3 separate regions of the Homo sapiens genome follow, and regions 2 and 3 are each linked to region 1. Evidence: promoter capture Hi-C in 16 types of primary human blood cells and fetal thymus (Javierre and others, 2016). All regions are on one chromosome and are shown on one strand. The core of a region is centred on a gene start or on the middle of the fragment in contact, and the rest is flanking DNA. Distances in the headings are between cores, read along the strand shown. Region 1 holds the start of MESP2 (mesoderm posterior bHLH transcription factor 2). Region 2 overlaps ZNF710 (zinc finger protein 710). Region 3 has its middle 5.5 kb from the start of ZNF710.

Region 1 (2,874 bases), core at 217-2,716:
GCCTGGCTAACATGGCAAAAACCAGTCTCTACTAAAAATACAACAATTAGCCAGACGTGATGGTGCATACCTGTAGTCCCACCTACTTGAGAGGCTGAGGCAGAAGAATCACTTGAACCCAGGAGGCAGAGGTTGCGGTGAGCTGAGATGGTGCCACTGCACTCCAGCCTGGACGATAGACCAAGTCTGTTTCAAAAACAAAAAAAAGAGAATAAATAAATAAATATGAATTAAATGAATAAAGTCCATTAGTGCCTTGAAATCTAAGTACTTTCCTTTTATTTTATTTATTTATTTATTTATTTACTTATTTATTTATTTTTGAGACGGAGTCTCGCACTCGCCCAGGCTGGAGTGCAGTGGCACGATCTCAGCTCACTGCAACCTCCGCCTCCCGGGTTCAAGCGATTCTCCTGCCTCAGCCTCCCGAGTAGCTGGGATTACAGGTGCCTGCCACCACACTCGGCTGGTTTTTGTATTTTTAGTAGAGACAGGGTTTCAGCATGTTGGCCAGGCTGGTCTCGAACTTATGACCTCAGGTGATCCATCCACCTCGGCCTCCCAAAGTGCTGGGATTACAGGCATCAGCCACCATGCCTGGCCAGTACCTTCTTTATAAAACGATCATGGCAAACCTTCAGCTCACTTGCCAGGGCCTAAGTGCTTTACAGGGATCGCTGTACTTAGTCCAGGAACCATCCTAGGCATAGGTATTTTGTATCACTATTGGTACCGATGAGGGAATCTGAGGCTCAGAGGAGCTAAATAACTTAACCAAGGTCACAGCCAATAAAGAGGCCGGCTTGGGGACCCATTTTCGCCGGTTTTCATCACCTAGGGTACCCAACTCCTCTTCCCCAACCTAATCTATTCCATTTCTCAAGAGTAGATACAGACCATGGGCAGTGAGATGCCTTTCTTGGTGTGTCACTCAACAAATCAGAAACTGTGGATTTTGGGGACCCCAGAAGGGCCCACCTGCACTTCTTCCTCAGCCACCATGGGCAGGGCCCTCCGGGCTTGTCTTGATGCCTTATTTAATACAACAGTAGGCACAGCGTCCTGGGCACAGACCTCCGGGAGGTTAGTGATGAGAGAGGCACCCACTCCTCACGGGGTCCCTGAGGCACCCACAGACCATGGCACTACCCGCCTCTGTTGGGCTCCCGGGCACTCACCGTGAGCAGTGGACGGGGCAGGGGCGTGGGTGGGAGCGTGGTGAGAAGCTTAGCAGCTCCATCCAGATGCGAATTGTCCCTCCCATACTTCCCGGGCTGCAGGGGCCTCCATTTAGAGCCCCCAAGGAGTCAGAATCCACACCTCCGCAAATGGGCCCGCTTTCCCAGGGGCCCCCTGCCCAGACTTTCCCTGGGCTCTGTGGGTTTTGACACCTCTCTGCAACCTGGCGGGGGGCCACCTCGCACCTTTGGTCAACATAAAAGCTCAGGCCTGGAGGTGGCCAACCCAGCCTCCCAGAGCCTGCAGCCCGGCCATGGCCCAGTCGCCTCCTCCGCAGAGCCTCCTCGGCCACGACCACTGGATCTTCGCCCAGGGCTGGGGCTGGGCCGGCCACTGGGACTCCACGTCCCCGGCCTCCTCCTCCGATTCGTCGGGTTCGTGCCCCTGCGACGGCGCCCGCGGACTCCCGCAGCCACAGCCTCCGAGCTGCAGCTCCCGAGCCGCAGAGGCAGCCGCGACGACGCCCAGACGAGCGCGCACCGGACCAGCGGGCGGACAGCGGCAGAGCGCCAGCGAGCGGGAGAAACTGCGCATGCGCACGCTGGCCCGCGCCCTGCACGAGTTGCGCCGCTTTCTGCCTCCCTCCTTGGCGCCGGCCGGCCAGAGCCTGACCAAGATCGAGACGCTGCGCCTGGCCATCCGCTACATCGGCCACCTATCGGCCGTGCTGGGTCTCAGCGAGGAGAGTCTGCAGTGCCGGCGCAGGCAGCGCGGGGACGCGGGGTCCCCTTGGGGCTGCCCGCTGTGCCCCGACCGTGGCCCCGCAGAGGCGCAGACGCAGGCGGAGGGGCAGGGGCAAGGGCAGGGGCAGGGGCAGGGGCAAGGGCAGGGGCAAGGACAGGGGCAAGGACAGGGGCAAGGGCAGGGGCGCAGGCCGGGCCTGGTCTCCGCCGTCCTCGCCGAGGCGTCCTGGGGATCCCCGTCCGCCTGCCCCGGAGCCCAAGCCGCACCCGAGCGCCTGGGGAGGGGGGTCCACGACACGGATCCCTGGGCAACACCCCCTTACTGCCCCAAGATACAGTCGCCCCCGTATTCGTCCCAAGGGACAACCTCCGACGCGTCTCTTTGGACGCCACCCCAAGGCTGTCCCTGGACGCAGTCGTCCCCAGAGCCCCGGAACCCACCAGTGCCCTGGACGGCGGCCCCAGCAACTTTGGAGCTGGCCGCAGTGTACCAGGTATGTGTGGAGGCCCTTGCTGTGTTCCCCAGCCTCCAGTCTGCAGAGAATCTCGTACTTTTTCGATCCCAGCTTATCTACTCCAGGATTATCTAACGGAGGGGAGAATGGAAGGAACCCCCGGCTCCGTGGGAGAAGAGATGGGACCCTGGGAAGTTAAGGCCATCTCCACAGTCACCACAAGCAGTCTTCACAGCCATGGGAAAGAGGGGGAGCCCGCCGACTTTCTCAGAGGGTGGAAAGTAGCAGGGTGGGCGTGCTGGCTTCAAGTGCTATTAAGACTGCAGTGGGGGAAGGAAGTCCCAGGGTAAGGGCAGCATTTCCTGAGTAGATGGGCCTAGAGCTGGTGATTTCAAGTTTTCTTCAAGATTCGTTCATTCATGAGGCTCATGAATGACTCATCGTCCATAAAAAATCATATTAACCAAAATTTGTTGAACACTTTCTATGTGCCCATC
Region 2 (2,874 bases), core at 106-2,605, 250 kb after region 1:
GCAGGGGTCCATTTGTGATAGTGTTGGACCCACCAAGGGCATGAGTAGTGGGCAACTTTGGAGTCCTGTGAGAGAGGGTGTGGCACCCCCCCCCCCTTAGCAGCCTGGGGGACGTCAGCTCCAAGGGTGAGGGTTTCAGCCCTGGGTTCCTTGCTATGGAGTCAAACGTTTCTCCAGTGTGTGTTCAGACTTCTGACCTGGACCCGCCTTAGCCTTGGGGAGCTCTCTCAACTGCGTCCTTTGTTGGATGGAAACTGCATTAGACACAGAAACACAGAGCTGCTCTTTTCCCCACAGGCAGGTGCAGACCTGAAAGAGCCCCGCTGAAGCGGCTCAGAGGCAAGGGGAGGACCTCATCCTTAAGTCACAGGACTCAGGATTAGAGGACCTACAGCTTTCAGCCTCGGCTCACCATCTCCTAGCCCTGATGACCCACAGCCTCCCCAAGCCTTGGTTTCACAGCCTGTAAAATGGGTTCATGAGCCTACTTTTCATAGCTACACTGTGTGTTTGTATATAACCCATGGCTATCACTATTACCTGCGGACCGCGGTGCTATGAAGTCAGGAGACAGGCCTGCACCATCCTGAATCCTCTGTTCTCTGAAAAATCGCCCTTTGTTCTCTCTTACTTCCTTCATTCAATCAGCAAACATTTACCAACTACCTACCATGTGTTAAACTCTGTCATATTAAGGTGAATGGCATGGTCTCTCTCCCCAGTGAGCCCCCAGTCCAGAAGGGGTACTAGATATTGGATATAGACACAAAAGCACAGGAAGTTAGCTCTTCGAATGTGCTGGGGGCAGGGGGCTGTAGGGAAGACTGCTTGGTGGAGGTGGTGTCTAGCTGAGTCCTAGCAGACAAAGGCGGCATGGGGGACCAGGCGTGGTGGCTCACACCTGTAATCCCAGCACTTTGGGAGGCTGAGGCAGGCGGATCACCTGAGGTCAGAAGTTCAAGACCAGGTGAACATAGCAAAACCCGTCTCTACTAAAAATACAAAAATTAGCCGGGCATGGTGGCGCATGCCTGTAAGTCCCAGCTACTTGGGAGGCTGAGGCAGGAGAATCGCTTGAACCAGGGAGGCAGAGGTTGCAGTGAGCTGAGATCCAGCCACTGTACTTCAGGCTGGGTTACAGAGCGAGACTCTGTCTCAAAAAACAAAACAAGGCTGGGTACAGTGGCTCACGCCTGTAATCCCAGAACTTTGGGTGGCCGAGGCGAGCGAATCACGAGGTCAGGAGTTCAAGACCAGCCTGACCAATATAGTGAAACCCCATCTCTACTAAAAATACAAAAATTAGCCGGGTGTGGTGGTGCATGCCTGTAATCCCAGCTACTCAGGAGGCTGAGGCAGGAGAATCGCTTGAACCTGGGAGGCAGAGGTTGCAGTGAGCCGAGATTGCGCCACTGCACTCCAGCCTGGGGGACAGAGTGAGACTCTGTCTCAAAAAAACAAAACAAAACAAAAAGGAGGCATGGGGGACTCAAACATGCAAAGGCAGCAAGGGACACACTTGAGGAGTCCGAGGGGGATTGTGGGTGAGATGGTAGAAGATGAGGCTGCAGGTATAGGTAGGGACCAACTGAGAATGTGTCAAAAGGCTCGGGCTTCATCCTGAGGCCTGGGAGGCCACTAGTGGGTTCTGAGCAAAGAAACACTATGGCGGATCACTCTGGCATAAGCCGGGAGACTTGGGGCTTGTGTTGTTAAATCCCTATGGGGAAATCCCTTTGGAAATGTTGACCTGAGAGACGAGAAACCCCTCAGAGGAATACATATGGCACTTTTACTTGAATTCCTTTTCATTTCGCCTAGAATTTCTGCTTTGCACCAGCTGTTTACATATAATTTACAAAAGTACATTAATGGGCTTGATTGTGTTTCTTAAAACTCACTGAGAAGTAACCCCAAGTAAAATTTTTCCACTGGGGCATGTTCTTAATACATATTTATAGTTACTGAATCCATTTGAGAATGTAGAAAGCTCTTTTGAAATGTTGCGGGAGTACATGACATCTTCAGGTAGGGTTTTCCCCAGTCCTGGCAAGGGGAAGAGAAGGAGAATTAATGTCTGTCAAGTAGCTGCTATAGGCCGGACACTGATCTAGATTCTTTGAATTCAGTGACCCACTGAGAAATAGCATTCCTCTCCCCATTTTACGGACAGGGAAACTGAGGCTTATGAAGGTGGCTGCTTTCCCAAGGCCTCGCACCTATAAGGAGTGGTAGTGGGATTTGAACCCAGATGCGATGAGTCCAAAGCTCACACTCCATCCATTGAACCACTCTGCCACCCAGCTCCTAAGACCTACCAGAAAAGTAAAGCAGGAGCTACAGAGGTAGGTGAGCCACTGGACAGCCTGGTGGCTTCTAGATAAAAATCAGAGCTAAAACACCAGCTCATTTCCATTCTCCTTGCACAAGTTCTTCTGCTGGCTGACAAACTGGAAGCCAGCCCTTCTTTGGGTAGCACTCTTCCAAAGAGTGATAGCTGCAAGTTCTTGGCTACATTCTGAGTTGGAGGTTCAGCCCACTGCATGGAGCAGCAGGTAGGAAGTTGGTGCCTGTAGGTGGCATCAAATTGAACATAAACACACTTGCAGGTGAACCAGGCATGGTGGCTCATGCCTGTAATCCCTGTGACTCAGGTGGCTGAGGCAGGAAGATCTCTTGAGCCCAAGAGTTCACGGCTGCAGTGAACCATGATCACACCACTGCACACCAGCCTGGGTGACAGAGTGAGACCCCAACTCTATTAAAAGCAAAATAAAACAAAACAATGCTTGACCAGGCATGGTGGCTCACACCTGTAATCCCAGCACTTTGGGAGGCCAAGGCAGGTGGATCATTGAGCTCAGAAGTTCGAGA
Region 3 (2,874 bases), core at 234-2,733, 220 kb after region 1:
AATTAAATCACCTATAATTTCAAGAAACAGAAATAACTTTTTTTTTTTTTTTTTTTTTAGATAGAGTCTCACTCTGTCACCCAGGCTGGAGTGTAATGGCGTGATCTCGGCTCACCACAACCTCTGCCTCCTGGGTTCAAGTGATTCTCCTGCCTCAGCCTCCTGAGTAGCTGGGATAACAGGCATGCACCACCACACCTGGCTAATTTTTCGTATTTTTAGTAGAGATGAGGTTTCACCATGTTGGCCAGGCTGGTTTCAAACTCCTGACCTCACGTGATCTGCCCACCTTGGCATCCCAAAGTGCTGGGATTACAGGTGTAAGCCACTGAGCCCAGCCAGAAATAACTTTTTAAAAACTTGTATATTTTCTTCCAGGCATTTTACATGCATTTTTCCGGATAAGTATACATGTATATACCAAATTTTAAATATATATAATTCTGATGCATATGCAATTTTATATTTCACTCAGCATATTACAAACACTTCCCAAGTCATTATTCTTCAAAAACATGATTTTTAATAGCTTATATAGTATTACATCAGATGTTCATGCCATAACTTCTTTAAACATTTCCATCATTTTTGGATATTTAGATTATTTCCTTCTTTCTTTCCTTCTTTTTTCCTATTTTTAACTTTTGCCAATATAAATAATACTTTCATAAACATGCTTAACACATCTTTGTTCACATTGCTGATTATTTCTCTCAAGAACAGATTTCTAGAATTCGAGTTACTGAATCAAAGGGTATAAATTTTTAAGCTTCTCTTGATCTTTCATATCCAATTATTTTCCAGGCTTTGTACCAATTTGCCCTCCTGTAGCCATAAGTATCATCACTGTGGCTTTTACATTTAATTTATTTGTAACTCTTCGGTGAAGCTGGCAGTTGTAATGACCCATGTTTCTTTTGGCATATTTCTATTCTTAAATTTATGTGTATAGGATTAATTAACTAATTGGTTCAAGCCATGATGGGAATAAAGCCATGTAACTGTGCACCCTCAATCACAAGGGGAGCTCAGAGGAGGTGGATTATTTCATGCACCCTTTCATTACTCCTGGACTAATAATTTGTAAGTCACATGTTCATCCCATCTATCCACACAAACTTATGCTTTCTTTGGGTTTTCCCCAAAAACCCTGAGTATTCCTAAATTGTTACTATACTTCTGAGGATTTTTTTTATTGTTTATTTTTTAATTTTAATTTTAATTTAATATTTTTTTTTAAGAAGATCTTGCTTTGTCACCCAGGCTGCAGTGCGGTGGCGCGATCTCGGCTCACTTCAACCTCTGTTTCCCAGGCTCAAGCATTTCTCCTGCCTCAGCCTCCCGAGTAGCTGGGACTACAGGCGCATGCCACCACACCCAGCTAATTTTTGTATCTTTAGTAGGGACAGGGTTTCACCATGTTGGCCAGGCTGGTCTTGAACTCCTGACCTGAAGTGATCCGCCCACCTCACCCTCCCAAAGTGCTGGGATTACAGGCGTGAACCACTGCACCCGGTCCTTCTGAGGATTTTGAATTGCTGCCCAGTGCATATTCTGTGGGCACTTAGAGCTTAGCTCTCAGTGACTCTCTACCAGTTCCCAACCCCCATGCCATTTCCGCTAAGACCAGCCTTTTAGGAGCCCTAGGTCCACCTCTGCTTTCTGCAGCGCCTGTCTAGTTGAACCTTGGGGTCCTCGCCTTTCATTGGCTGGATTCCTGTTGGGAGTCTTGATATTAAAAGTTGAATATTAGATATTGCAAAGCCAATAATATCTTTTAAAATGTTTGTTTGGTTCTGGCAATGAAAGAAGCAGATATTAATAATCACCTGCTAATCTCCCAGCAAATTACTCTAGTGAACATGTCAACTGAAACGTCGAAGAGCTGTGTTTCATCCCTTTTCTCAGCTTACAAGATTCCTGGGATTCTCAGAGATGGCTAGAACATCCTGGAAGGGTCTGCAGCAGGAATGTATCCTCTATCAGGGAAATCAGGATTAATAAACCTTATAATTATAAACCTACCTTTGAATTTCAGCTCTAGGGAGGCAGCTTTGGGGCTTCTGAAATGCCCAGGGGAGACCTCCATTTACTGCTTTTGTATCAAAAAAGCTGATTTCTTTCTTTCTGGTGTGAATCTGGAGGATTCCTTGCTGGGTTTGGGCAAGTCAGGAGATTTGGCTAAATAGTGATGTCTGCAAGCTTAGGGCCTCACTGGGACCTTCTAACGTTCACATAGGCTTTGAAATTTACAAAATACAGTATCATACATTACACATCATATATTATCGGCTTCCACTTCTCCCAACAACCCTAGAAGGTGGGCATTATTTAAGTTAAAAAGGTGTCACAAAAGGAAGTGGGTCACCTGTCCAGACAGGTTCTCACAGGGAGGTAATCTGTAAGAGAGGAAATTGGTATGGAAAGTGGAGGAGACTCTAAAGAGGGGAAAACATGTTGAAAGAGAATTCCCAAAGGGAAACCCTGTCTACACATTCTGGCTCAGACACTCCATGGTAGTGACCTTAGGAAGTTTTTAAGCTTTTCGGTGCCTCAGCCTCCTCCTCTGTAAAATGATAATGACACCTACCTCAAATAAAGTGCTTAGCCCAGCCTCGCACTAAGGTGGCTGTACAGGTATGTTTATCAAAGCAGGTTCATAAAAGCGAAAAACCTGCAAACATCCCATGAGTCTAACAATTTGTTTAAACAAATTAAGATACACACATACCATGGAATAATATCATTCACTAAGAATGACAATGTGGGCTGGGTGAGGTGGCTTATGCCAGTAATCCCCACACTTTGAGAGGCTGAGGCAGGAGGATTGCTTGAACCTAGGAGTTCGAGACCAGCCTGGGCAACATAGCAAGA

Evidence for each region. The method cuts DNA at HindIII sites, captures the fragments that hold promoters and counts their contacts. A CHiCAGO score of 5 or more calls a contact.
Region 2: a contact is called between a fragment that was not itself captured here and the fragment with the promoter of MESP2 in region 1, in 1 of 17 cell types (neutrophils). The highest score is 5.1, in neutrophils.
Region 3: a contact is called between a fragment that was not itself captured here and the fragment with the promoter of MESP2 in region 1, in 1 of 17 cell types (monocytes). The highest score is 5.2, in monocytes.

What each region holds. Positions count from the first base shown.
Region 1 is chr15:89,774,866-89,777,739 of GRCh38, forward strand. It overlaps MESP2 (mesoderm posterior bHLH transcription factor 2), which reads left to right and starts at 1,467. Exons shown (of 2, transcript NM_001039958.2): 1 at 1,467-2,416. The coding sequence starts at 1,493. It overlaps LOC124903550 (a long non-coding RNA gene), which reads right to left and starts at 1,744. Exons shown (of 2, transcript XR_007064751.1): 1 at 1,425-1,744; 2 at 1-186. RefSeq lists a silencer at 1,731-1,890. The HindIII fragment of the contact is 2,896 bases long and covers 1,225-2,874 here.
Region 2 is chr15:90,020,925-90,023,798 of GRCh38, forward strand. The region is part of intron 1 of ZNF710 (zinc finger protein 710); the gene reads left to right. Among named protein-coding and RNA genes, the nearest start is that of MIR3174, 16 kb to the left of the region's middle. The HindIII fragment of the contact is 8,896 bases long and covers 1-2,874 here.
Region 3 is chr15:89,994,396-89,997,269 of GRCh38, forward strand. No RefSeq gene overlaps it. Among named protein-coding and RNA genes, the nearest start is that of ZNF710, 5.5 kb to the right of the region's middle. The HindIII fragment of the contact is 1,433 bases long and covers 768-2,200 here.